2 separate regions of the Homo sapiens genome follow, and region 2 is linked to region 1. Evidence: promoter capture Hi-C in human tissues and cell types (Jung and others, 2019). All regions are on one chromosome and are shown on one strand. The core of a region is centred on a gene start or on the middle of the fragment in contact, and the rest is flanking DNA. Distances in the headings are between cores, read along the strand shown.

The links. The method cuts DNA at HindIII sites, captures the fragments that hold promoters and counts their contacts. A contact is called where the count stands out against the background at its distance.
Region 2: a contact is called between a fragment that was not itself captured here and the fragment with the promoter of LRFN5 in region 1, in 2 of the 25 tissues and cell types used here (dorsolateral prefrontal cortex and mesendoderm cells).

The regions. Positions count from the first base shown.
Region 1 is chr14:41,604,497-41,609,265 of GRCh38, forward strand. It overlaps LRFN5 (leucine rich repeat and fibronectin type III domain containing 5), which reads left to right and starts at 2,380. Exons shown (of 6, transcript NM_152447.5): 1 at 2,380-4,066. The HindIII fragment of the contact is 3,229 bases long and covers 533-3,761 here.
Region 2 is chr14:41,870,085-41,874,483 of GRCh38, forward strand. The region is part of intron 2 of LRFN5 (leucine rich repeat and fibronectin type III domain containing 5); the gene reads left to right. Among named protein-coding and RNA genes, the nearest start is that of LRFN5, 270 kb to the left of the region's middle. The HindIII fragment of the contact is 5,997 bases long and covers 76-4,399 here.

The sequences.
Region 1 (4,769 bases), core at 1,130-3,629:
GAAGTGTTTTCCTGGGCCTGGTAGGGCTTGAAACATGAAAGAACAATGAAAAGTTAAGCATTAAGCATTATTACTCCCAGCATTAAGGAAACGTGATTTCATCTTTCTCAAGCTGAAAACACACACACACACACACACACACACACACACACACAGTTTCTGAAACACACACACACACAAATTCCAGTATATATTTGAACTTTGTTTTGTCCCAACCCTTGACTTCTTACAGCTAGGTCAGTGTGTCCCCTCCCTACCTCAGTCTGGACACCATAAAAAAGAAAACAAGTTATTCAGCCCAGCGATGCAAGGTCTTCGGGTTTCTCATTCAACATTTTATACTTTGATCCCTGAGGTAACGGAAAATCCTCATCGCCTAGACTTTCATTGGTTCCTATCAGCTCAGCTGGAAAGGGTGGCAAGTGGGACAATCCTGAAGAAAAAAGAGTCACCCCCACGTCCTAAAGTACTTGGAAGTGCTCGCTGGGATCTGCCTGTACTCCAGGTTGGTGCAACTCCACCGCCCTCCAGTGAAGTCCCAGAAGCGATCAAGTTTAAAGTGAAAGGGGGATGGAAGCATTTTTTCTCCCTATGCCTTCGGAGTCTGTGGCTTCAGTTTGCTGCAGGTTCTCTCCGTGGACTTCTCAGAAACCTCAACTTTCCACTTCGAGGGACAGAAAGCTACAAGGAAAACGCTGATGGTTTTGGTGGAGATTCTCCTGGACTTCAGTGGTGTCCTCTGGTACATCTGTCCGCGGTGTCCCTTTGGTTTATTTCTGTGGTCTTCCTGCGCAGTCCCTCAGCGGCTCGGAGTTTGGCCTTCCAGCTCTCCAACTCAGATCCTGAGCCTCCTAAGCTCCCGCGGAGACCCTGAAGTCCCGGATCTGGCGCCGCTCGCCGACCTGGAGGGAGGCTGCACCGCTGAAGTGCAGTCTCGGAGCTGCGCTCCTCTGGAACAAAGCAGCCAGACGTGGCTTGAGTGGATTCCTAAGCCAAGGATTGGATCCGGAGTACCAGGGGCAGAGAGGGGGAGCAGAGGAAAGAAAGGAGATGTGAGGAGTTTCCACCTAAAGCACTTCACTCCTCGTGTTCTTCCCCGACAGAGATAGCTGTGTGGTTCTTCCTTACGCGTGGGTGCAGGTGTGCGCGCTTGGGGTGAGCCCATGGTTGTGCTCGAGTATACGGGCGCCTGTGCACCTCCAGGGCAATGGTAAAGCCTGGCAGAGCTCTTTTTGGAACAAAATGAAGGAGCTCCATATCCACGGAGGCCACCCGTATGGGCCTTTGCCAAGTAGGGCAGAAGAAGCCCTTGTTAGCCAGCTTCCCTTTGCAACTTCCTACTCTTCCTTTGGGTACAGACTGGTGTCTGGGCTAGCTAGGATCACAGCTGAGAGCGAAGGTGCTCTCAGTGTCCGAAGACCACGTGCTGGTGAACCCACAATGAGAAGCGAAAGGGTTTCAGGACTCTAGCAGAAAGGAAGAGCAAGATTTCACTCAGGGTTTCTTAGAAGAAAGAGTTAACTTTGCTCACTGGCTTTTCCAGGATGGAGGGAGTGGGGATAGGGTCGGGGAGAGAAGCATTGGGAGTCTTGTCGGAGTCTCAAGCAAAACCAGGCGAGGGCTCCGGGCAGATCCATTCCCGCAGGGCCCTGTCTAACCTCCTTTCCAGTCGCACCTCTTTCCTGCTTTAGACCCTGCGTCTGTGCCGGTGACCTTAGAGACTAGGTCTGGCTTATGAAGACTGTTGGGCTCCCTTTCTGCCCTTCACATAGTAAAATGTGACCAACTGCAGTATTCGTAATGTCTGATGCTGAGCTGAGTTGATTCCCAAATATAAATGTTCTTTTCAGAATCCGCTCCCATCTGATTAGTAAGCAAATCACCACCCACAACTAAGGGGACAGCGGAAGCCAGCCTCAGATGACTGAAACCCCCAAGTCAGTAGCTCTCCTCAAAATTTCCGGCGGGTTATTATAGATAATGACTTTTCCCACCGCCCTAAGCAGCCGAAGCTTGACTCAGTGATGATTCTCTCTATCCCGTAACTGCGAGGAAGTGGGCGATCAGCAAATTGCCCTTTTGCAGGAGGCTGGGGACGCCCCTGGAAGTTCGCTTTCATTCTCCAGGTTTTCTGCCTTTTCCCTTCCCCCTTCCTGCAACGCCCCCGCGCCTCCTCAGCCTGGGGATTTCCTGGCGCTTCGCCGGCCCTCTCCGCAACCCCCTGATAAATCGGTTCAGAACCAGTCTGGCTGGGAGGCCCGAGGGCTGACAGCAGCGGAGCGGCCCCGGCCGGGGTCTCACGGACTCTCGGGGTCTGGCCGACACGGCCGCTCCCGTCACTGCAGCGCGGGCTGAGCTCACGGCCGCGCGCCCGCCGCCGCCGCCGCCGCCGCCTTCATGCTGCAGCGCAGGGCTCAGTTCCACGCGGCCAGGAGGCCGCCGTTGCCCACACGCGACGCTTTGGGAAGCCCAGCTCCCGGGTCCGCCCCGGCCGCGGCCGCAGCCCCGGACCTCGGCTGCTTGCCTCGCGCCTGAACTGCGGACTCGCCCCAGCGCGGTGGCCAGCGGGCGGGGCGCTGTGTTCCGCGGCGCGCAGGGAGGCGGTGAGCGTGTGCAGAGCTGCCCGAACGGAGGACTATGTATGTGTGTGCGCGTGTTTGCGTGTGTTTGAGCGTGTTTTTCCTTCTTCCCTTGAGGATGTGAATTGTTTAGCAGCTGGCTGCTCCCTTAGGATCCTTGACTTTGGGGAGCTCTGGCTGTGAACACAGCCCACCCATATAATCCATTTTGCACGGTCCGTTATATCAGAAAAAAAAAGCGCAACTGGACGGGGGTGGGGCAGACCAACGAAACCTAGACAGACACACACACACTCAGAGGAGAGAGGAAGAATTGAAAGACTTGAGAAGACTTTGATAACCTCCCTGCTGGCCCTTCTGTGTTCCGGAAAGATCCTGGATGTTGGCTACCTTTTCAAGTCATCTTGGCATGTCTCTAGTGTTTTGTAAGCCGCTTTCCAGCTAGCTGCGTGTGTGTGTGCGCGCGCGTGTGTACGCGCGCGCCTATCTGATGCATTTGACTGTCTTTTATCCAACTGCCCAGAAGCAAATGTGTTAACTCGGCGATGCCCCTTCATGCCCGGGTTCTTGCAGAGCTCTGAGGACGCCCAGACCCATTTTCCTGGCTGGATTTGGAGCGGCTGCTGGGCTGTGGACCCAGGTGTGTGGATCGCTTTACCCAGAAGCTTGGAAAGCGCCAATATTAACCTGCTTCCAGGTACATCACAAGGTCAAGAGAGTGTCTTGCAGCCCTCTTGTTTCCGTGTATCTACACCTTCTTCTCTTGGCCAGAAGGATATTTACGTTTTGGTTCACAGCATTTGAAGCCAAAAGTTCAGCCCTTCGAACTGGTTTGCTATACAAAACAAAACAAAACAAATAAGGTAATGAGGATTGCTTATTAAACTGCTTAACAAAATCCCCGACTCTTCCTCAGCCCTTTCTCGGCTCCCTCCTCCCCACCAAAATGTCACCAGCTCTTGAATTACGTGGATTCGGGTTGGAGGAGAACTTGAAGGAAACGTGATTAAAGGGCTATGCGAGAACGCTCTCTTTGCTGCCCGCGGTCCGGTGGGCTTCGAAGCCAATCGTGAGAAGGACCGGTTCCCTCCGTGCTGCTTCCTCCCCGTGCAGTGCTGGGTGTGCGTGTGCGAGTGTGAGTGCAAGTGCGCGCGCGCCCGGGTGCGAGTGTGTGTGAGTGTGAGCGTGTGTCTGTGTGTGCGTGCGCGGCCGCCCTGCCTCTGCCCGCTCCCCGGGCGCGGAGCCGCGGGTTTCATGGGGCGATTGCAGCGATTCCCCCACCCAGAGCGACCTGCGGGCAGCGGCGGCAGTGGCAGGAGCCGCCTTTCCGATTCCCTACGATGCGGGTGCTGAGCTATGGCAAAGGGCAGCGAAGTGACGAGCGAGACCCGCGTACGACTGTGAAAGCCACCTGGAGCCACCTTGCCGGGATTGTACCTGCAGGCAGAAAGTCTTCCTACGACCGTCTTTTCCCTTAGAGGCACCAGGTAACAAACCAACGATTACTCGCCTCACCCAATTTCCTTTTGATCTTGTTTCTAGTGTCTTATCTGCATTGCAGGCTACTTTACTTATTAATGTTTTGAAAATCATTGGGAAGGGTTGGGTATCCAAGGGCGCCTGCTCTGTGATTTTGTAATACGATTTCTAGTAGGTGAAATATAAATCTATACCTAAGCACTTAATCTAGTAGTGAAAGCTTTGAGAATATGGATGTGCTCCACCCTGAGGATATTTTTTGAGAGCTAGGCGTGTGGAACCTGTCTGAAGATGCCAGAGATCAAAATTCTGTGTTTCCTTCAGGCTGTGGTTGCCACGGACCATTTGGTACCCAACCCTTTCCAGATTGTGAAGTGTGAGTGGGTGTTTGGTTTCCACCCATCATTTAAACCAAAGATCTTTTCTACCCTTTTCTACCTCTGGTGCCAGGTTGTTTTCCTTTCCTTGTTGTGGAGGAGCTTGCCAGATCTTTTTAGTAGTTGTAAATTACGCATCTGGAGACTTTGACTCGAAATGGAGTTTTCTTGGAACTTGGTTTGCATGAAAGGGAATACATATTGTCACGGCTGTGTGTCTTGAGATATGGTGTTTAACTGCCAGGACGTGCTTTTATGTAGCAGAATAAATCCATGAAAGAAGTCATTTTTATATCTAGCAGAACCAGGCTAAAACGATAGCCACCACCCAACA
Region 2 (4,399 bases), core at 1,824-4,323, 270 kb after region 1:
TCTTCTGTTCAAGGCTATGATAAATGTATTGGCCTGGTTGAGTTTTCATTTGGAGGCTTAACTAGGGAAGAACTCACTTCCAAGCTCCTTCAGGTTGTTGGTAAAATTCATTTTCTCACTGCTGTAGAATTATGACAGTTTGATTTTTCAAAGCCAGCAATTAAGAGAGGGAAGCTGCTGTTTGGAGTCTCTAACTTCAGGAAAAATACCTTCCTTCAAACGATTTGCCCAATATGACATCCCTCAAAATAACTGTATTAATCTGTTTTCCTGCTGCTAATAAAGATATACTCCAGATTGGGTAATTTAAAAGGAAAGAGGTTTAATTGACTCACAGTTCCACACGGCTAGGGAGGCCTCATAATCACGGCAGAAAGTAAATGAGGAGCAAAGTCATGTCTTACATGGCAGCAGGCAAGAAAGCATGTGCAGGGGAACTCCCCTTTATAAAACCATCAGGTTTCTTGAGACTTATTCACTATCATGAAAACAGCACTGGGAAAATCCACCCCCAATGGGTCTATCCCACAACACATGGCAATTATTACAATTCAAGGTAATATTTGAGTGGGTGCACAGAGCCAAACCATATCAATAACTCTCTTTTTATTAACTCAAAGTCAAATAATTGGGAGTTGTACATACAATACAAACTGCCTTTTTTTACTGACATTTAATATTGATTAGAAGTTTTAGCTTTTAACTACACTCAATGGAATAAGATTACACAAAAGTGTATACACCAGGGAGTAGCAATAACAGGGACATTTTAGAATTATGCCAACATACATTGTAGCACATGTTTTATTATTATTTTTAACTCTCAAAAATTTTTTATGACTGTCTTATATTACAACCGACCAGGTATATTATAATTCATCTAAATACTAGATTATCAGTACATATTAGGTTGCATATGTCAGTTTTTAAGGTTTGAAAAATTCCAATCATATCTGATAAATATTTAGGCCTTGATATTCTCAGCTAGAAATAAGTGCTTTTAAAAACTAGAAAAAAATGAGAAATGGGGTCTTATTTAAAAATCATCCAATTCTATTTTTAAAATCCTAGGGACAAAAGTAGATACTAGATTTATCTCATTAAAAAAAATGCTTGCATCAATAGCTTTGCCAATTGAAAAATTAAAAATAATCATCAAATCAAAAGTAATTATTATTTTGTGTAATAACAAATAACAGTAAAAACATACTCCCAGATTTAGGCCAGGCACAGTGGCTCATGCCTATAAGCCCAGCAACTTGGGAGGCCAAGGCAGGTAGATTACCTGAGGTCAGGAGTTCAAGACCAGACTGGTCAACATGGCGAAACCCCATCTCTACTAAAAAATTCAAAAATTAGTTGGGCATGGTGGTGGGCACCTGTAATCCCAGCTATTTGGGAGTCTGAGTCAGGATAATTTCTTGAACCCGGGAGGCGGAGGTTGTAGTGAGCTGAGATTTCACCATTGCACTCCATCCTAGGCAACAAGAGCAAAAATCTGTTAAAAAAAAAAAAATCCCAAATTTATACAATAGGATGCTGTCAAGAAATTTCAAATAGCACATACTTATTGTTTGCAAAGCAGCCGTATCTATCCATTATATCCTCCAAGGTTTTCTACTCACAGTATCCTGTTTATTTCAACATCTCTCCCACCCTGATTTAAACCAGAAAGTTACCTTCAAAAATAGATTACCCTAATTAATTTATTATCTCTTATCACAGTCCAACTTTTTTTACTAATTCTAATTAATATTACTCTACCTGCTCTTTTACCCAAGCTAAAGTTGAGGACATTAGCCAACACTTGTACTTACTCCACATATTTAACCAATAACCATGTTGGTAAGCTTTTTTTAATTATTATTTTACATTCTTATAGTTAGGGAATGTGGGCTCAATGGCTTTTTTAAAATAAGAATTTCTTTAGCTGGTTTGAAATAATAATCTCTCCTATCTAAGTTACTATCAAGAAATGCTTCAGAGACTGAATGAACAGTGCCTACCTGCTGATAGATGACAGATGTAGGCTAAATGTGTTTATTCACTTTAATCATCATATAATATTTGTTTTTAGTAATTTTTGTTACAGCTTACAGCTATACCTGTCAAAAACTTCTCAATTAGTAGATAACTTTTATGGCTATGACTAATCACTAATGTGGATGATTTACTATTGAAAGAACCCAAGTTACTTTTAACTTTTTGAAAAATTTACAGAAAAGAGCTACACACAAAAAGTATCTAAAGTATCTATAGACATATAGACTTGAATGCATGCTATGTTTTTTTCTAATCATTTTAGCATATTCATATTTGATGCTTTAATGATTTAAAATCACACTGTAACCAATTGAAATTAGTTTGGCTATAAATAACAGACTTTTCAAAATAGTAGTAGTTTAAACATGTTAGAGAGCAATCCAGGGCTGGAAGAGTAAATTCAAGGCAATTAGGAATGAGTCCTTATCATCCTTGCTCATGACTCTCATCTTCAAGATTACCTTAATGTCCCAGTTTGGTGCTAGGGTTCCACACATTATATTCGAACTGTAATTTGAAAGAAGGCAAACAGCACAGGATAAGTGGTAGATCCCATCTCAGTTATCTCCGTGTAAGCAGCCTGCTGTGAAGTTCTCAACATTTTCGCTTAATATCATTGGAAGGCACAATTTACAAAACAAACATTCTGGGCAATGCAATGGGTAAAAATTAGGTTCTTCTTCTAAAGAAGGGACAAGTGGATATTAGAAACGCAACTAGTACTTTCTCATAAACACATAACATGGGCACATATGTGTGCACACAGATATGCGTATAGATTTGCATACACAAAAGTATATATGATAGTTTATTCTGTTTTTTCACTAAACTTTTGTCTAAATTCCACTTCTTTATGAGTCATAAACATTTCAATGGCTTGATTTAAAATTCACTGAGTTGATGTAGCATTGTTCACCCTAAAATTGGTAATAGGCTGTTTCCACTTTGTTATTGTTCTTGCTTACTACACTGTTGCAGTAATGACGGCTGCTGCAGCTGCTGCTTATGGAGAATCTGTCCTGGGCCAAGAATTTTGTTAAACAGTTTGTATTTACAATGAGTGAATAAAACTGCATCTTGATCCTATTTTCAGGCATAGTGCAGGATTTGAAGGAAACACAAACTCAAATCACAGAAACACAATTAATGCAGAGCTTTTTTAAATTTTTCTTTAGGGGTAGAAGAGCAGAGTGCACTTCCCAAAATACAATAAAATGTACTAAATATTCTTAATGCTCCGTTTTCCTAAGACAGAAGAGAGAGAAAGAGAGAGGAGAAAGAGAGAGAGAGACAGAGAGAGAGAGAGAGAGAGAGAGAGAGAAGGAGAGAGACATTGCGTTCAGTGATATAAAATCTTCCATATGGTGTTAGTTTGTCAAAATATTTCTGTAGGAGTACTGCCGGAACTTTCCACCCACACACATTCTTGGTATTTATACCCTCAGTAAATTCATTTTTTGTCCTTCTGTATGTGGGTATGCCTTTCTTCTCCCATTTTTCATGTTCACAGAGACTCAGCTATTCAATTTGATTTTCTGATAGAGATAACTAGGCTACCTCAATGCCCACAATAATATGAAGAGAAATTATTTCCTGAAGAATTTTCCATATTTCTAGATGCCTGAATTCTGTCATAGAGCATCTCCATACTGATGATCATTCTTTCTGCATTGCTTTACTACTGTGTTTCTTTAATTGCTATGGCAACAGCACAACAGAGCCAATATAACCACAGGGACTACAGTTACAAGAAATGTTAAATACCCTAGGGAAACTGAAATACAGTGGATAGTTTGATATCTCTGTGGCTCAGAGATTCACCTTTCAGAATTTCAAGGAAAAACTGGATAAAGTAATAAATCATTTATTAGATTTGAAACACCAGTTAATAGCATTCAAATTTGTATTATAACCTTTTTTATGTCCTTTCAAGTTGTCATAAATCAACGTGAATTCCAGGAAAGAGGCTGCTATATTGGAAGAAACAGGGGTCATCTACTGTGCTGAGGTAGCAGCATGATGATTTCATTGCATTTCACATTTGTGGCAATGTTCAATGTGTGAGTCTTTCCTAATTCCTGTGACCATTGAAGCCTAATTATCCTGCAATGAGATGCAGTAGAAAGAGAACTGGGGCATTAAATTCAGGTTGGAATCTTAGATACCTAATAATGTTTTCTGGCCTTCACTGAGATTCAGATTCCTCATTAATCAATGATGTAGAACTCAAGATCTTTTTACTCTGATGCTTTCCAAAAGGCACAGATATGTTGAGGCAAACATCTTCAGGTTTGACATTGATAGGGAGCAACAGGGCAATATCACAGCAACAATATACTCTGTAACTGAAAGGTAA